Regions from separate parts of the Homo sapiens genome. Here all the other regions are linked to region 2. Evidence: promoter capture Hi-C in 16 types of primary human blood cells and fetal thymus (Javierre and others, 2016). All regions are on one chromosome and are shown on one strand. The core of a region is centred on a gene start or on the middle of the fragment in contact, and the rest is flanking DNA. Distances in the headings are between cores, read along the strand shown. Region 1 overlaps DCBLD2 (discoidin, CUB and LCCL domain containing 2). Region 2 holds the start of CPOX (coproporphyrinogen oxidase). Region 3 has its middle 3.5 kb from the start of LINC00973. Region 4 has its middle 95 kb from the start of LINC00973. Region 5 overlaps DCBLD2 (discoidin, CUB and LCCL domain containing 2). Region 6 overlaps DCBLD2 (discoidin, CUB and LCCL domain containing 2).

Region 1 (3,096 bases), core at 574-3,073, 300 kb after region 2:
AATAAGCCTAAACTAATGTTATGGTAGACAACTAACACATTAGAAAGTACATAGGCTTTGGAGTCCAACAGACTTAGATTCAAATTCTAGACATGCCAGTTTTCAAGATCCTGGACACTTAACTGCCACAAGCTTACATACCCTAACCAGTATACTGGTGAGGATGCAACTACCTCACGGATGAGGATACCACCACCCATCTCCCAAGATAAATGTAAAGGTTCAGTAAGAACTTCTTTAAAATACAGTGGTCTCTTTATAAATGTAACACTCTTTCTCCTAGAAGAGGATGCCTCTGTTTATCTAGTACCCTGCCTTATCCTTCTCTGGAAGGTGCTCTGCAGTTTCCCAACAGTTTTAATATGACCTCATGCCCCCTGGTTATTTGACTGGTCCAAGGGTGGGTACTGAATCACACTGGGTCAATGTGAGGGCCAACTCACCCTTTCCTGGACCTTGTACAATAGGGAAAATACAGAATTTCTCCGTGTTAAAACCGTAAGCCTTCGGGATTGCCAGCAGCCATGATTCCTTCCACAAAGAGAAAGCCAGACTGAAACAAGAGGGAAGAACTAAGCTGAGTCCTTGGTTCCTGAAGTCTAGCTGCATTCCTGCCTTCCCCTCTCAATCCTCCCAATAGTTTCTCCTTCTACCTTAATCAGATATGGATTTCTGTTCTCTATAACCTCAAAAGTCCTAACTAAAACACTCTTCCTCCATGCATGCAAAAGAATGTCCACCTCACATCCAGACCTATAAAGCTGGCTTTTAGGATGCCAAGAGTAGACAGAAACAAAGGTATATCAGGAAAGAAGAGATAAAATGATCTGAGATGGTGGGGATCAAAAAACACTGAAGCACACCAACAGGCAGAAGGCTGAAGAGGCAGAGCAAAGGTCAAAAAGGAGAGCACAGAACTCACATTAAGATTTGGGTGGGCTGGAGACAGTCATGCCTTTCTGCCACATTCCTCTATTGCATGCTCTGACTCCTCTCACTGAGCTGGGGGTGGAACAATAATTGGGGATAAAGGGAAGAGGGATGGAAAAGTGAGTCTTAGTGGAACGGAAACATATAAAAATGGAAATTTTAACTGCAGAGTAAAATGAAACAAAATTTTCTTTGACATATTGATTCATTCATTGAACAAAAATTTACTTGCTACCCAGATTCAATCCCAGCCCTCGTTACAGTCTAAAAAGAAAGATGAGTTACATATTTTAAAATATTTAGAGTAGTAACTGGATGTCAAGTTCAACAAGGCTATTATTTAAATCCAGGTATGTCCAAGTCCAAAGCCTCCAGATTTTCAAAGACCACTGTAGTAAGAAAAAAAAAAAAAAGAAACCAATAATAAAGATAGGCAAAGCTGCTTGGTTTTTCAAACTAAAACAAAAACCAAAACAAACAAAAATCTGACAGTGTAAATGACAGTTTCAGTAAAGCAGAAACAAAACCCTTGCTTTTTTATTGCAAGGGTTAAAAAATAAATTAACAATTTAACAAATATCTGCTGTGTGCCAGTCACTAAGAAAATATACAGCACAAATGTAGATTACCATTTAGAAAGCTCGTCACTGAAAAAAGCAGAGATACAAGGTACCACAAAGCAATGAAAAAAGAGATATGTAAAAGCCAGTGGCATTTTGAGCATGTTTCCAGATATAAAGTAAAAGTGCCATCAAAGTGTAAAGCATGCCAAAACAAAATTCACATTCCCCAATGTAGCAGTGCTCTGATAAAGAGGAAGAGGACAAGGTTTCAGTCAGGAGGAAGTCATACTGTGCAAGGATTAGGAGCAGGGCAGGAGTTCGGCTGTACAAATCAGCTTTACAAAGTGAGATAGTCTGCTAAGCAGTAATCCCCACTTGGGACTTGATTAGCCAGACCTCATTTGTGGCAGATCTAATCACGATGACCACATGACTTAATCTTGTAACTATGAGCTATCCAGAACCAGAGAAAGCAGAGAATGGGGATTATCACATGGGCCCAAGTTTGGGAACTGTCCAAGATCACGGAAAGAGCATTGTTGAGATGATGGATTTGGGGTGCCTGAGTTGAGAAGAGATAACCAAACCTAGTGACAGACAAATGAACCAGGTGAAAGAGGAAGCACCTGAGGCTAATGTCAGGCCTAACATCGCAGATACAAACTCCTCAGTCTGCCCCTCAATGGGAAGTCCTCCACAATACGTTCCAGCCTCCATTTCTCATTACTTTTCTATTACACCAGATTAGTGAAGCTACCTGAATGCTCCCCAGCAACATCCACTGGCAAGAAAAAGGAGACAGGCAACTACGAGAACAAAAACTAGGGGGACTTTTATAATATTGGAGATGCCTATTGAAGTCAGAAGCTGAAAGCATGCAAAGGAGAAAGTGTGCCCAAATTGCTGGCACTGATTTAGGCTGTCACGGTTGTTAAGGATGACCCATCTGAGGGGAGCAGAGCTTTCTAAGAAGTAGGCATGTCTATTTTCAGAATTTCAGCTTGAAGGATTCCTCTCATAGTCAAGGGTGTGCAGCAAAGGAGTCTTCCTCCTGGGAAGAGGTGGGACTGGGAAAGGCTGGGAAGACTGTTAGGCTCTGAGCAAACAGGTAGTAAGGGTCAAGACATGGCTCTGTTCCCGGCTCCTGAACTGACCACTAATTTACGGGGATTAGGCAAAGGACAACAGCATGAAGTGCATGCCGGTGCCAAGGGATGAACCAAATAATGTGCTCAGGGTAGCAGATTAACTCTAGAAATGGGGTTCTTAATTCACATAATTTGAATGACAGACACTATGATAAGTATTAGAAATAAGAAAATGAATAAAACTCTCTCCGCTGGCAGGAATAAATACTTAGAATACAGTGTGGAATGTATTATCCGGAGATGAGTGTGTGGGGACTGTTCGAGAACTCTTCATAAAGGGATGATACCCAAGAAGGGTTTTGAAGGCTGATCGAGAGTTTACCGAGAAGACAAGGAAAGTAAGAGCATTTCAAGTAGAGGAAACTGCATATATGAAGAGGTTAGTATAGGGAACAAGGCAAAATGGCATGAAATTATATCTTAGAAGAATAAAATTAGCTCAGTCTCATATCTGA
Region 2 (2,833 bases), core at 70-2,569:
GTTTCACTGTATGGGCAACAACATGGTCATGAATGTACGCCTCTACGAGAACTGGGTTTTGATGCTCAAGTATTTTGATATTGGAAGAGAAGATTTTCCTAGCAGGAAATCTGATGCGTGCATTTGGTAGTGCTACTGAGAAACGAATCAAATATATCTTGTGTAACAGTAAAAAGAAGTGGGAAGATTCTGACACAATGACATCCTGGCTGGAGGAGTTTAGCCGACACTTAGCGCACAGGAGATGAGTTCTTTCCATCTCCTAAAGAGGAAAAAGGGCAAATTCACCCAGAGAAGGAGAGAAAATGTGTTCCATAATCTATTGAAATTTATGTTCAGTAACGAACTTTGGACATCTAAGCTTGTTAGCTGCAAATACCCCTTAAGAGTTCTACAAAAAAATGCTGCTACGGAATTGCAAAGATTTTGAAATGCAGTACTACAGTGACAGCTGATCCGGGTCCATACCTGCAAGCAGAGGGCTAGTGACCCTTTCGTGTCCATCTTTTTATCAGCGGCCTCTAACCAAGCGGCCTCTCTGTGGGTACCCCCTACCTACCCCATCCCATATTGTGAACTATTATATTTTCTGTCTGCAACCTGGAACCTGACCCTTTTTCCCTGTCTCCAACTCCCGCCAGGGGCCGGCCTCCTTACCTTCCTTCCTCTCCCACCGGTCCACAGAAAAGTTGGCGCCCCCGTCTACCTGTGCCAGAGCCTGGCACACCTGGGCCTGGGTCTCCAGAATCAGCAGCTCCATCTTGGTCTTCATGTCGCCCGGCCTCCTTCGCAGCTCGCCCAGGTCGGTCACAGGCGGGGCCATGAAGCTGCTGCAGCGGTGGGCCAGCTCATCCTCCTCCTCCTCCGGCCTCCCCAGCGAAGTGGCCCGCGTCCCCGAGGTCTTAGGCAACATCTCCGCCCGCTGCACATGCCCGAAGGCGGCGGTGGCCAGCCCCACCAACCCCGCCAGCGCCGCGGCCAGCCCTGTCCCCACCCAGGGGCCGCCTCTCGACGTCGAGCCGTGCCCCAGCCCGCGGCTCTGCTCCGTGCCAGCCGGGCCAGGGGGCCGGCAGACGCGTCCGGCTGCGCTGCGCTGGGACCAGGCTCGGAGCCCTCCGCCGCCGCACTGGGACCAGGCGCGGGGCCCTCCGCAGCCGCCCCGCGCCACGAGCCAGCAGGGGCCCGAGCTCAGCCTGCCCAGCTGCAAGGCCATGTTCCCGCACTATCACCTGGAGCAGTGCCTGCGTCCCAGAGCCCTGCGTTTGAGCCCCCCACCCAGACCCCCGGAGTATTGAGCCGGCGAGCTGCACAGGCGGAAAGAACCTTTCGAGAAGAGCCGCTGCAGCGTCGGGCTCCGGAGGCGGGGGCGGGAACTGGGGCGCGCTGGGAGCTGTAGTCCGGATCCTATCGCCGCCTGCGGCGTCCCTGCGCGGGGCGGGAGATAAGAATCCGACGCGCCCAGAAGGGCTGGTCCGAAGGGAAGAGAGTGGGGCGGGGACGGTGCTGTGGAAGGGACGGGAGAGATAAAAGAGGCTTTCTTGTCACGTACAACCTCGGGTCGGCTGTTTACTCAGCCAAGGAGAGAAGATAGAGTAGGGCTGGGAGGCTGAGGGCGGACTGGGGCGGAAATGTGGCAGAGATCCCAGTCCCGCTTACATTTTCAAACAGGATTTGCGAATACAGAGCCTGGCTCAGGATCTGTATAGACCCGCCCTTCGCCCTGGGTCCTGGTCCTCTAGAGTTTTTAGAGGGGATGGGCAGGCTGGGAAACTCTTTGCTGAAGGATGGTTTTCTAAAGAGAGTGGGAGAAGCTAGTAATGGACTCGGAAGAGAGTCGAGGAGAAGACTTTCTGTGATCGAGTCCACATCACAGTTCTGTCCTTAAGATTTCCCCAGGCTGGGGCCGGGCGCGGTGGCTCAAGCCTGTAATGCTAGCATTTTGGAAAGCCGAGGCGGTTGGATCACATGAGGTCAGGAGTTCGAGACCAGCCAACATGGTGAAACCCTGTCTCTACTAAAACTACAAAAAAATAGCCGGGCGTGGCGGCGTGCACCTGTAGGCTCAGCTACTCGGGAGGCTGAGGCAGGAGAATCGCTTGAACCCGGGAGGCAGAGGTTGTAGTGAGCCGAGATCGCACCACTGCACTCCAGCCTGGGTGACAGAGTGAGACTCTGTCTCAGAAAAAAAAAAAAAAAAAAAAGGTTTCCCCAGGCCTTGCTTCTATAGTGCCTACTTGATTATTTTAGAAAAAGGAAAAGCAACGTGACTGTTTTGGTTAACCAGTAGAAAATTCCTGACTTGGTGTGTTTTGGTGATTAACAAATAAGAATTTAAAAAATAGTTATTCTACTACTGTAGGGTGCTCCCAAATATTGCTCACGTTTAATACTTACAACAACTGCTACAAACTAGGCAAGGCAAATATCCACACTTCCTCCTACTCTGTCTCCCTTCCCCCACCCTTTAAAGAAATGAGGAAAGAAGCTAATAGATTTGACAGGCAGGTCTTTGTCTCCCCTGTAACCATACCACAGCTCCATGGTTCCTGGACGTAAAAGTGTGAGAACTATTGTCATGGGCTAATTTGTCCCATAAGTCTCCGGGATGATTTTAATTTCTAGTAGTAGATAATAATTTAAGCCACTGGTAGCTTTTCCCACAAGTGTTTTCTTTGTGGCAGGATGCACTGATGGAACTTCAATGGCTTTTGAGTCAGATCAATTGGCATCTTGTCCACACACAACTGTACCTGGCAGCTCTCACTGGGACATGATGTTAGCAAGGTGGGTGTGCTTGCCGAAGCCTCACCACTGAGAATCTGTGAAAAGTAAA
Region 3 (2,972 bases), core at 456-2,955, 320 kb after region 2:
ACAAGAAATAAGCAAGATCAGAACTGAAATGAAGGAGTTAGAGACACAAAAAACACATTAAAAAAAATAAAATCCAGGAGGTGTTTTTGTGAAAAAATTAACAAAATAGATAGACTGCTAGCAAGACTAAGGAAGAAAAGAGAGAAGATTGAAACACAATCGGAAGTGATGAGGGCTATCACCAATGGCCCCACAGAAATACAAACAACCATCAGAGAATACTATCAACACCTCTATACACATAAACTAGAAAATCTAGAAGAAACTGATGAACTTCTGAACACATACCCCCAATCCCATAACTGAACCAGGAAGAATTCAAATCCCTGAATAGACCAATAATGAGTCCTGAAATTGAGGCAGTAATAAATAGCTTACTAACCAAAAAAAGTCCAGAACCAGATGGATTCACTTCATAGGCACGAAGAATTGGTACCATTTGTACTGAAACTATTCCAAAGAATTGAAAAGGAGGGACTCTTCCCTAACTCATTCTATGACATCAGCATTAACCTGATGCCAAAACCTGGCAGTGATAGAACAAAAAAAGAAATCTTCAGGCCAATATCCTTGATAAGAATCAATGCAAAAACCCTCAATAAAATACTAGCAAACTGAATCCAGCAGCACATCAAAAAGCTTATCCACTATGATCAAATATGGAACCCAAAAAGAGGCCAAATAGCCAAGACAATCCTAAGCAAAAACAAAGCTGGAGGCATCATGCTACCTGGCTGAAAAATATACTACAAGACTACAGTGACAAAACAGCATGGTACTGGTACAAGAACAGACACATAGACCAATGGAAGAGAATAGAGAACCCAGAAATAAGACTGCACGCCTCCAACCAGCTGATCTTCAACAAACTTGACAAAAACAAGCAATAGAGAAAGGATTTTCTATTTAACAAATGGTGCTAGGAGAACTAACTGGCTAACCATATGGAGAAAATTGAAACTGAACCCTTTTCTTACACCATATACAAAAATCAACTCAAGATGGATTAAAGACAATTGTAAAACCCAAAATTATAAAAACCCTAGAAGAAAATCTAGGCAATACCATTTAGGACATAAGCACGGGCAAAGATTTCATAAAGAAAATGCCAAAAGCAATTACAACAAAAGCAAAGATTGACAAATGGGATCTAATTAAACGAAAGAGCTTCTGCACAGCAAAAGAAACTATCATCAGAGTGAACAGACAACCTATAGAATGGGAGAAAATTTTTGCAAACTACCCATCTGACAGATGTCTAATATCCAGCATCGACAAGGTACTTAAATAAATTTACAAGAAAAAAACAAGCTCATTAAAAAGTGGGCAAAGGACATGAACAGACCCTTCTCAAAAGAAGACATGCGACTGGGTGCAGTGGCTCACGCCTGCAATCCCAGCACTTTGGGAGGCCAAGGCGGGCAGATCACGAGGTCAGGAGATCGAGACCATCCTGGCTAACATGGTGAAACCCCGTCTCTACTAAAAAATACAAAAAATTAGCTGGGTGTGGTGGCGGGCACCTGTAGTCCCAGCTACTCGGGAGGCTGAGGCAGGAGAATGGTGTGAACCTGGGAGGTGGAGCTTGCAGCAGTGAGCAGCTGAGATCGCGCCACTGCACTCCAGCCTGGGCAACAGAGTGAGACTCCGTCTCAAAAAAAAAAAAAAAAAGAAAGCTCAACATTACTAATCATTAGAGAAATACAAATCAAAACCATAATGAGATACCATCTTATGCCTGTCAGAACGGTTATCATTAAAAAGTCAAGAAACAACAGATGCTGGCAAGGTTGTGGAGAAAAAGGAACACTTTTACACTGTTGGTGGGAGTGTAAATGAGTTCAACCATTGTGGAAGACAGTGTGGTGATTCCTCAAAGACCTAGAGGCAGAAATATCACTTCACTCAGCAATCTCATTACTGCGTATATATACCCAGAGGAATAGATCATTCTGTTATAAAGATACATGTGTGCATATGTTCATTGCAGCTTTATTCATAATAGCAAAGACTTGTAATCAACCTAAATGTCCATCAATGATAGACTAGATAAAGAAAATGTGGTTACATATGTACCATGGAATACTGTGCAGCCATAAAAAGGAATGAGATCATGTTCTTTGCAGGGACGTGGATGGAGCTGGAAGCCATTATCCTCAGCAAACTAATGCAGGAACAGAAAACCAAATACCACATGTTCTCACTTATAAGTGGGAACTGAATGTTGAGAACACATGAACACATAGTGGGGAACAACACACACTGGGGCCTGTCGGAGGGTGTGGGTGGGAGGAGGGAGAGGGTCAGGAAGAATAGCTAATGGATGCTGCACTTAATACCTAGGTGATGGGACTATCTGTACAGCAAACCACCATGGCACACATTTACCTATGTAACAAACCTGCATATCCTGCACAGGTACCCCTGAACTTAAAATAAAAGTTGGAAAAAAAGATATTTAAAAGGAATGTTTTTAATATTAAAAAATAGAAATTGGGATTTTTTAATGCATAGATCTCTTCTTTTAACCAGCCTTTTTGAATCCTTTAAACTGTAAGATATTTGTTTAATAAGTTAATAGACTAGGAAGCAATATTTTAAATAATAGCAAGCCTTTGGAAACTCACTATTTAGCAGGAATACTTAAGATTTTTAAAACAAAGAAATGTATCATCTTCTTTTTATCACATTCACAGACTAGCTATGTTCGCCTACCTAACACAATAAGATATAAATGAGATGAAGAATATATTATACATTTTCATTTAAACAAAGCTTTTTATTTTTGTCATTCTATTAACCATGGTTTGTGAAATGATAGATTGTGGACTAAGAGAAATAATATATTATTCAGATTAACCTTACTTTCCATGAGCTTCTGCATTAATAATCAGGTTTTAATATAAGTATTACATTTGACTGACATACACTATCATTTTGTTCATAGTTAACATACTGCACAAAAGTGAAGA
Region 4 (3,168 bases), core at 320-2,819, 420 kb after region 2:
TTTCTAAATGCTTTTCAGCATGTACACAAACATAGAAAGCAAAGAAGGAAGAACTAAGTCAGTGGTGTTTTGATCAATGTTTAACAATTGGCTAATAATTTAGGCTAGGTTAGAAGGACTGTATGGTTCCCCCTGGTGTTTTTGGAATGCTTGCCCTGGAGGAAATCTGCCACCATCTAGGAAATCTTACTACCTGGAATCCACCATTCTGAAGAGGACACATGTAAGTTCTTTGGTAGAGCCACTATATTAGGCTGTTCTTGAATTGCTAGAAAGGAATATCCCATTGGTTCATGGCTCTGCAGGCTGACAAGCATGGCACTGCATCTGCTTCTGGTGGGGGCCTCAGGAAGATTCCCATTATAGTGGAAGCTAAGGGGAGCAGGCACATCACATAGGGAGAGTGGGAGCAAGAGAGGAGACTAGGAGGTGCCACACACTTTTAAACCACCAGATATCATGAGAATTCGCTCACTATCATGAGGGCAGCACCAACCCATCCATGAGGGATCTGTCCCCATGACCCAAACACTTCCAATCAGGCCCCACTTCCAACATTGGGAATTACATTTCAATATGAGATTTAGAGGGTACAAACATCCAAATTATATCATTCTGCCCCTGGCCCTTCAAATTTCATGCCCTTCTCATATTGCAAAATACAATCATCTCCTGAAAATGGGCTTTTCTTTTCTACCACATGGATAGGCTGCAAATTTTGCACATGTTTACAGTTTTCTTTTTAACATAAGTTCTAACTTTAAGTCCTTTCTTCACTCCCACATCAACGTGTAGGTTTTTAGAAACAGGTCATACCTTGAACATTTGCTGCTTAGAAATTTCTTCCATCATATATGCGAAGTCATCACTCTTAAGTTCAAGCTTTCATTTATTCCTAGGACATGAACATAATGCAGTCAAGTTTTTTGCTAAGGCATAACAAGGATGACTTTTACTCCAGTTCCCAATAAGTTCCTAATTTCCTTCTGAGACCTCATCTGCCTGGCCTTCATTGTCCATATCACTATCAGCATCTTGATCACAGCCATTTAACCAGTCTCTAAAATAAGTTCTAAACATTTCCTCATCTTCCTGTCTTCTTCTGAGCCCTCCAAACTCTGCCTGTTACCCAGTTTCAAAGTTGCTTTCACAATTTTAGGTATCCTTATAGAAAGATCCCACTCCTTGGTACCAATTTTCTGTATTAGGCCCTTATTGCATTGCTATAAAGGAATACCTAAGGCTGGGTAAATAAAAGAGGTTCAATTGGCTCATAGTTCTGCAGACCATATAAGCGCGGTGCTAGCATCTGCTTCTTGTGAGGGTCTCAGGAATCTTCCAATCATGGCAGAAGGAAAAGGGGGAGCAGGTGTGTCACATGGCAAGAGCAGGAGCAAGAAAGAGAGGGGGAAGATGCCACACACTTTTAAACAACCAGATCTCACATGAATGCACTCACAATCACCAGGACAGCACCAGGCCATGAGGGAGCAGCCTCCATGACTGAAACACCTCTCACTAGGCCCCACCTCCAACATGGAGGATTATACTTTAACATGAGTTTTGGAAGTGATAAACATCCAAACTATATCAGCCATTACCAGCTGCCAGCTATATGAGTGAGCTGTCTTGGATGTCAAGGCTAGTTAATCCTTCAGATAACAGGGATGAGCTGATGTTTGATTGCAAATATATTGGAGGCCCTAAGTGAAAACTACCTAGCTGAACCAATTGTAATTCCTAACCCACATAATTATAAGAAAAATAAAATGGTGGTTGTTTTACAACGCTAATTTTTGAGTAGTCTGTCATATGCCAATGTGAACTATAAGAGAAAGAGAACAATAGTTTTTGAAGAGTCATTTTGCACAGAAAGTGAAGAGGAGAGAAGAGTCAAAAAAATTCTAGGGATTGAATATTTTTTAAAAAAAAATTTTGTCATCCTGGTGAACAGGAAAATGAATTGAAGATGTAAGATGAAGGAGAGAAGTTAATACAGATGGCTTTGAGTATATTATATTTGGGATGTGCCAAAAGTAGTGCATGTGTCCACAAAACAATTTGTACAAGAATATTCACAGAACTTTAATGAGGTTTTCCCAAACTAGAAACATGTTACATATAATATTTATTTTTGCAGGTCAAATAAATATATATAACATAAATATTATATGTAACATGTTCCTTTTATTGAACAAGTAATACATGCACATGAACAAAATTCAAATAGTTCAAATTGGTACATGATGACAGAAATAAGCTTTCCTTCCATTTTGGACCCTTTGTATTCTTTGCCAGAACTAACCACTGTAAAGAGTTTCTTGTGGATCTTTCCAAAAACGTTGTATGCTTATGTAAGCTTATGTAGTTATAAAAGACATATATATATATATATATATATATATATATATGTACACACACAATTTTTACCAAAATATGTTTATTATTTTGGTGTACCTGAGAGACAGCTCCATTTAGATTTGCTTTGGTGTCTTCATGATGTCACAGCTTTTCAATGTATGAATATGCCAATACATTGTAATGTGTGTGTGTATATATACCTATATATTATATTTAACATATTTCTTATCAGTGAGCATTTAGGTTGCTTTTAATTAAAAAATTAAAATGGCAATTAGCATGTGTGTTTATACACATATATACATATGTGTATATATACTAGTGTGTGTATATGAGAGTCTATAACATAACTTTCTGAAAATGGAAGAGCTAGCTCAAAGGGAATATGAGTTTTACATTTTAAAACATAATACCAAATTGCTCCCTAAGGAGATTTTATCAGCTTCAATTCAACTACCTAGTTTCTCACATCTTTACCAATGGCTGTTATCATTGAATAATTGTTTTGCCATTCTGATAGTATAATTTCTTCAATTTTTATTTCCTTAATCATCAGTTAGGTTTAGCACTTTTAATGTGTTTTTGGCCAGTTATATTTCCTTTTCCCTGATTTCACCAATTTTCTTGTTTTTAAAGATTCATGGCCCTTTGTATATTAGGGGGCATTAATTATAATGAATTCAGTTGTTAAATATGTATACTTATCAGGAGAAGAGAATGGGTCAATGGAAGGTACATTCTTGAAGTCTCACCAGAAGGGGACAAGAGAATGAAGCAGTGTGACTATATAGTCAGGGCTCTCTTCTC
Region 5 (3,001 bases), core at 304-2,803, 260 kb after region 2:
GCTATGGCAACATCACTTGAATAAGAGTAATGTGGACCTCCAAGGATATCATTTTCAAGGATGATACTTTATCTTATGAGTAGTGAATTCTAAGGAATTGACAAATAAAACAAAACAAAACCTCTCTAGAACTAGTAAAGAAACTTAGCTAAGTCACAGGATCCATATACAAAAATCAACTGCATTTCCATATATGCTAGTGCAATCTGAAATGAAATTTTTAAAACTCCATCCATAATAGCATCAAAAAAGTTAAAAAACTTAGGAATAAAATTGCTTTAAAAAGTTCAAAATCAGCATACCTCAAAATAATAAGAACTATTTATGACAAACCCACAGCCAATATCATACTGAATGGGCAAAAACTGGAAGCATTCCCTTTGAAAACCTGCACAAGACAAGGATGCCCTCTCTCACCACTCCTATTAACATAGTACTGGAAGTTCTGGTCAGGGAAATCAGGCAAGAGAAAGAAATAAAGGGTATTCAAACAGGAAGTGAGGAAGTAAAATTGTCTTTGTTTGCAGATGACATGACTGTATATTTAGAAAACCCCATTGTCTCAGCCCAAAATCTCCTTAAGCTGATAGACAACTTCAGCAAAGTCTCAGGATACAAAATCAACGTGAAAAAATCACAAGCATTCCTATACACCAATAACAGACAGAGAGCCAAATCATGAGAGAACTCCCATTCACAATTGCTACAAAGAGAATAAAATACCTAGGAATACAACTTACAAGGGATGTGAAGGACCTCTTCAAGGAGAACTACAAAGCACTGCTCAAGGAAATAAGAGCGGATACAAATGGAAAAACATTCCATGCTCGTGGATAGGAAGAATCAATATCAGGAAAATGGCCATAATGCCCAAATGTATAGATTCAATGCTATCCCCATCAAGCTACCATTGACTTTCTTCACAGAATTAGAAAAAACTACTTTAAATTTCATATGGAACCAAAAAAGAATCCATGTAGCCAAGACATTCCTAAGCAAAAAGAACAAAGCTGGAGGCATCACGCTACCTGACTTCAAACTATACAAGGCTACAGTAACCCAAACAGCACGGTACTGGTACCAAAACAGGTATGTAGACCAATGGAACAGAACAGAGGCTTCAGAAATAACACTACACAACTACAACCATTTGATCTTTGACAAACCTAACAAAAACAAGCAACGGGGAAAGGGTTCCCTATTTAATAAATGCTGTTGGGAAAACTGGCCAGCTAGCCATATGCAGAAAACTGAAACTGGGCCCCTTCCTTACACCTTATACAAAAATTAACTCAAGATGGATTAAAGACTTAAACGTAAGACCTAAAACCATAAAAAACCTAGAAAACCTAGGCAATACCATTCAGGACATAGGCATGGGCCAAGACTGCATGACTAAAACACCAAAAACAATGGCAACAAAAGCCAAAACTGACAAATGGAATCTAATTAAACAAAAAGGCTGTACCAATTTATTCCCCTTCTCCCCAGCAGTATTGGTGATCAAGAGACTGGTAACTTGTTATTTTCTTGATTAACTTTTCCAATGTGTGTTTACTTGTAAAATTTCCTCTAGTATGTGATCTTTTAATGCTTCTAGGATATTTCTTTTTTTTTTTTTTTTTAAAGGAGTCTCGCTCTGTCACCCAGGCTGGAGTACAGTGGCGTGATCTTGGCTCACTGCAACCTCTGCCTCCCACGTTCAAGCAATTCTCCTGTCTCAGCCTCCCAAGTAGCTGGGATTACAGGCGCACACCAACACGCCAGGCTAATTTTTGTATTTTTATTAGAGACAGGGTTTCACCGTATTTGCCAGGCTGGTCTAGAACTCCTGACCTGTGGTGATCCACCCACCTCGGCCTCCCAAAGTGATGGGATTACAGGCGTGAGCCACCGCACCCAGCCTTCTAGGGTATTTCTTACCAGGATTCCCTGTCAGTTTCATTTTTAACTTCTTTTATGTTACATATATGGCAAAACGGAGATTTTTCTGGGTAAGCCTGAACTAATCAGGTAGGCCCATTAAAAGCACATTGTTTTCTCAGGTTGCAGAATTGGAAATAAGAGAGACACATGCCAGGTGGCCTGGAAGAATGCAAACATCTATGTAGCAACTTGCCTATCAGGGCCATTGCAAGTCACCTCTAGAAAGTTAAAGCAGTCCCTGGCCAACAGTTACCAAGAAAATGGGGACCTCAGTTTTACAACTGCAATGAACTGAATTCTACCAACAACTAGTACACTTGGAAGAGAACTGTGAGCCCCAGATGAGAAACGTATTCCCAGCTAACACCTTAATTTCAGCCTGGTGGGACCCCAAGCAGAGAATTCAGTCATGCCATGCAATGCCTAGACTTCAGATCCATGGGAAGTGAGATGATAAAACTGCGCTGTTTTAAGTTGTAGGCTTGTGATAATTTATTAAGAAGCAAAGTAAAACAGAATACAACCAGGAATTTAGTGTACAGTCCAAGAATATTGTGCTTTTGGATAATTGAATTTGATAGAGGTATGGAGGCGAAGTTAGAATTGATGGCTCAGGACCCAAATTAGCCCACAGGCCTCTTGGTCTGTACAGCTCTGGGCTATACTCTCCTTCAAAAATGTTTAAATTAGGTGTTAAAGTTCTCAAAATCTGGAAACTTAACATAAATTCTGAATTTCCAACTTCTCTTGAAAAATCACAAGGAAAAAAAGGAAATCTAGGCCAGTTTTCTAAGTGGTTGTCCTTAAGTAGCAGCTGTCCCCTTTGAAAAAGAAAGTCACACTCCAGTTTGCCACAGCCCTATCACTCCACAATGCCACCAGTCCTGAAGCTCAGCTATCATTTATCATCATGGCTATGCTGTTATTCTTCATATGCCTAGGCCATTTCACTCCTTTATTTCATCTGTCTAGACCCTGTTGGCAGTGAGCTTGTAGCCACTTGTACAGAGTATAGAGACCTTATGGTCACCATGCCTCTTCTGATGTCCACATCAACCACAGTAGATGAATAACA
Region 6 (2,723 bases), core at 131-2,630, 280 kb after region 2:
TAAATATGTAAAATAAGAAATGACAGGAGGTAAATAACTATTGGAAAAACACTGAAATAACCATGTTAATAACTGTAAGATTCTATTTTACAGACATCATGGCCAATATATTAGATCACCTAGGTGAATGGGTAATTTACCAGGCAAGTACCGTTTATTACAATTGGACCCATTAGAGGTAGAAAGCTCAAACAGACCAATTTCCTGAGAAGAAACAGAGAACGTCATTAAGGAAGCATCCTATCAAAAACGCACCAGGCTAAAATAGCTTCACAGAGTGAAACCTTCAAAAACTAGATTGTTCAAATTCTCTGTAAATTTTTCCAGAGAACTAAAAAGAAAGGAAAACTTCATATTTCTTTTTATTTGTATGTATAGTATCAATACCTAAGCCTGATAAAGAAAATGCAAAGTAAATTACAAATTAATATCACACCAATATTTATGCAAAAATACTAATAAAATATTAGGAAACATAATCCAATGCCACATTAAAAGAATGTCACATCATAACCAAGAGATACTTATTCCAACAATGCACAGTTATTTCAATATTAGGGAACCCATTAATATAATACACTATACCAATAGATTTAGGTAGAAAAACCATATCATTACCTCCATAGATGCTAAAAAAGCTTTTCAACAAAATTCAATAGTCTTTCTTGATAACAACACTTAATGGAAATCAGTGGATACTTCCTATTATGGACCAGATACTGGTACGCCCCCCAAAATTAATTGCTGTTGAAGTCCCAACTCTTAATATGACTAGAGTTGGAGTTAGGCTCTTTAGAGAGGTAATTAAAATTAAATGGTTTTAGTTTTCCTAAGGTGGGGCGCTGATCCAACAGGATTAGTGTACTTATAAGAAGAGACATAAGAGAACCTGCTGTTTCTCTCTCCTCATCCCTCCAACCTCGTCATGTGAGGACACAGGAAGAAGGTGGCCATCTACAAGCCAGGAAGAGAGCCCTCACCAGAAACTGAATTGCTTGGCATCTTGATGTGGGACTTCTAGCCTCCAAAACTCTGAGAAAGTAAACTGCTGTTTTTTTAAGCCACTCGGTCTATAGATTTTGTTACGGCAACCTGAGCTCAGACACTTTAAATTTCCACTAAGATAAGGAACCCGGAAAGGATGCTCACTCTCTCCACTACTGTTTAACGTAGTCCTGGACTGGAGGTGTTAGCCAATACAATTAGATAAAAGAATCAACCATAGGCATAAGAAATGGAAAAAAAGGAAGTAGAACTATCTCTATCTGCAGATGTGATTGTGTATCTGAAAATCCCTAGAAAGTGAATGATAAAACTAACTGAAATAATTTTAAAAACTCAGTAAAATAGCAGAAAAAAATCAACATACAGAAATACAATCTCACATAATTAGGAACCCGTTACAGGATATAACAGCAAAACAAAAACACCTCCATCTCCATTGCAACAAAGCAGATAAGATGTTAAGGATTAAGTTTAACAAAAAATGTGTAAACCCTACATGAGAAAGAGTTTAAAACAATCCTTAAAGACAACAAAAGTAGATGTGAAGAAAGGAGAAAAAAAAAGAGCTCTTGGTTTTGAACTTAAGATAACTCAACATCATAAAGTTAATTTATAAACAGTATAATGTCAATAAAAACACCAACGAGCTTTTTTGTGGAGTTAGATAAGCTGATACTAAACTTCACATGGATAAACAAACAGGAAGGAAGACCCAGGAAAACACTAAAAATGAACGTTTCTGAAAGGAGACTAAGCCCTATCAGGCATTAACACATACCGTAAAGCCTCTGAAAGCCTTTACAAAACAGTCACATTCTGGTATGTGGATAGATACATCTGTGGAGTGCAACCCAAAGTCCAGAAATAGACCCAAGCACATACAGAACTGCAGTATATGATAAAGGCAGTATTTCAAACCACTGGGACAAAGATAAACTTTTAAATGCATGGTGATGGGGCAAGTGGTTAGTCATATGGAAAACACAATGAGATCTATACTTCATGCCATACAAAAGAAAAAAACCCCGATGTACCAGGGATCTAAATATAAAAAATGAAATCATATAATCCCACTATGAAAAAAATGGGTAAATTTATCTTTAGTTGGGATATAGGAAGAAGCTTTCTAACTAGGACTTAGAATCTAGATGCAATTTAAAAAAAGACTAATGAATCTAACTATAAATACATTTTTAAAAGTTTGCATGGTTGAAAAAAAGTAACATAAACAAAGTCAAAAGACAACTGACAAATTAGGAGAAATTATTTGTAGCATATACCACTATTATGTTTATAGACTAATATCCCTAAAAGATAATGAGAAGTCCTAAAACCTGAGAGAAACAAAGACCAATAAAACTTGACAGATGGGCAAATGGTGTGTGCCTGTCGTCCCAGCTACTCAGGGGGCTGAGGTGAGATGATTGCTTGAGCCCAGGGGTTTGAGGCCAGCCTGAGCAATATAGAAAGACCTGTCTTTAAAAATAAAAAAAAACTTGACAGAAAAACGGGCAAAAGACAGGAAGAGATAAAAAGTAAAAAAAAAAAAAAAAAAAAAAAAAAAAAAGGCCGTCAACATATGGGAAAAAACAGTTCAATTTCACTCATAGTAAGAGAAATGCAAATTACAACTATACTGAGCACTATTTATCATTATCAATTGGCAAAACTTAAAAGATATGACAACACACTTTGTTGGGAAGGCTGTGGAAAACAAG

The links. The method cuts DNA at HindIII sites, captures the fragments that hold promoters and counts their contacts. A CHiCAGO score of 5 or more calls a contact.
Region 1: a contact is called between a fragment that was not itself captured here and the fragment with the promoter of CPOX in region 2, in 3 of 17 cell types (fetal thymus, erythroblasts and megakaryocytes). The highest score is 8.3, in fetal thymus.
Region 3: a fragment that was not itself captured here is called in contact with the fragment with the promoter of CPOX in region 2 in 3 of 17 cell types (fetal thymus, monocytes and neutrophils); the score reaches 8.1 in fetal thymus.
Region 4: a fragment that was not itself captured here is called in contact with the fragment with the promoter of CPOX in region 2 in 1 of 17 cell types (megakaryocytes); the score reaches 6.2 in megakaryocytes.
Region 5: a contact is called between a fragment that was not itself captured here and the fragment with the promoter of CPOX in region 2, in 1 of 17 cell types (neutrophils). The highest score is 6.3, in neutrophils.
Region 6: a contact is called between a fragment that was not itself captured here and the fragment with the promoter of CPOX in region 2, in 2 of 17 cell types (erythroblasts and megakaryocytes). The highest score is 10.6, in erythroblasts.

What each region holds. Positions count from the first base shown.
Region 1 is chr3:98,892,054-98,895,149 of GRCh38, forward strand. All of the region lies in intron 1 of DCBLD2 (discoidin, CUB and LCCL domain containing 2), which reads right to left. Among named protein-coding and RNA genes, the nearest start is that of DCBLD2, 8.1 kb to the right of the region's middle. The HindIII fragment of the contact is 3,386 bases long and covers 131-3,096 here.
Region 2 is chr3:98,592,292-98,595,124 of GRCh38, forward strand. CPOX (coproporphyrinogen oxidase) reads right to left here and starts at 1,320. Exons shown (of 7, transcript NM_000097.7): 1 at 658-1,320. The coding sequence starts at 1,213. RefSeq lists a silencer at 859-1,308 and an enhancer at 1,809-1,858. The HindIII fragment of the contact is 5,536 bases long and covers 360-2,833 here.
Region 3 is chr3:98,909,602-98,912,573 of GRCh38, forward strand. No RefSeq gene overlaps it. Among named protein-coding and RNA genes, the nearest start is that of LINC00973, 3.5 kb to the right of the region's middle. The HindIII fragment of the contact is 2,136 bases long and covers 638-2,773 here.
Region 4 is chr3:99,008,466-99,011,633 of GRCh38, forward strand. No RefSeq gene overlaps it. Among named protein-coding and RNA genes, the nearest start is that of LINC00973, 95 kb to the left of the region's middle. The HindIII fragment of the contact is 1,378 bases long and covers 881-2,258 here.
Region 5 is chr3:98,850,642-98,853,642 of GRCh38, forward strand. The region is part of intron 2 of DCBLD2 (discoidin, CUB and LCCL domain containing 2); the gene reads right to left. Among named protein-coding and RNA genes, the nearest start is that of DCBLD2, 50 kb to the right of the region's middle. The HindIII fragment of the contact is 3,478 bases long and covers 1-3,001 here.
Region 6 is chr3:98,873,871-98,876,593 of GRCh38, forward strand. All of the region lies in intron 2 of DCBLD2 (discoidin, CUB and LCCL domain containing 2), which reads right to left. Among named protein-coding and RNA genes, the nearest start is that of DCBLD2, 26 kb to the right of the region's middle. The HindIII fragment of the contact is 1,489 bases long and covers 637-2,125 here.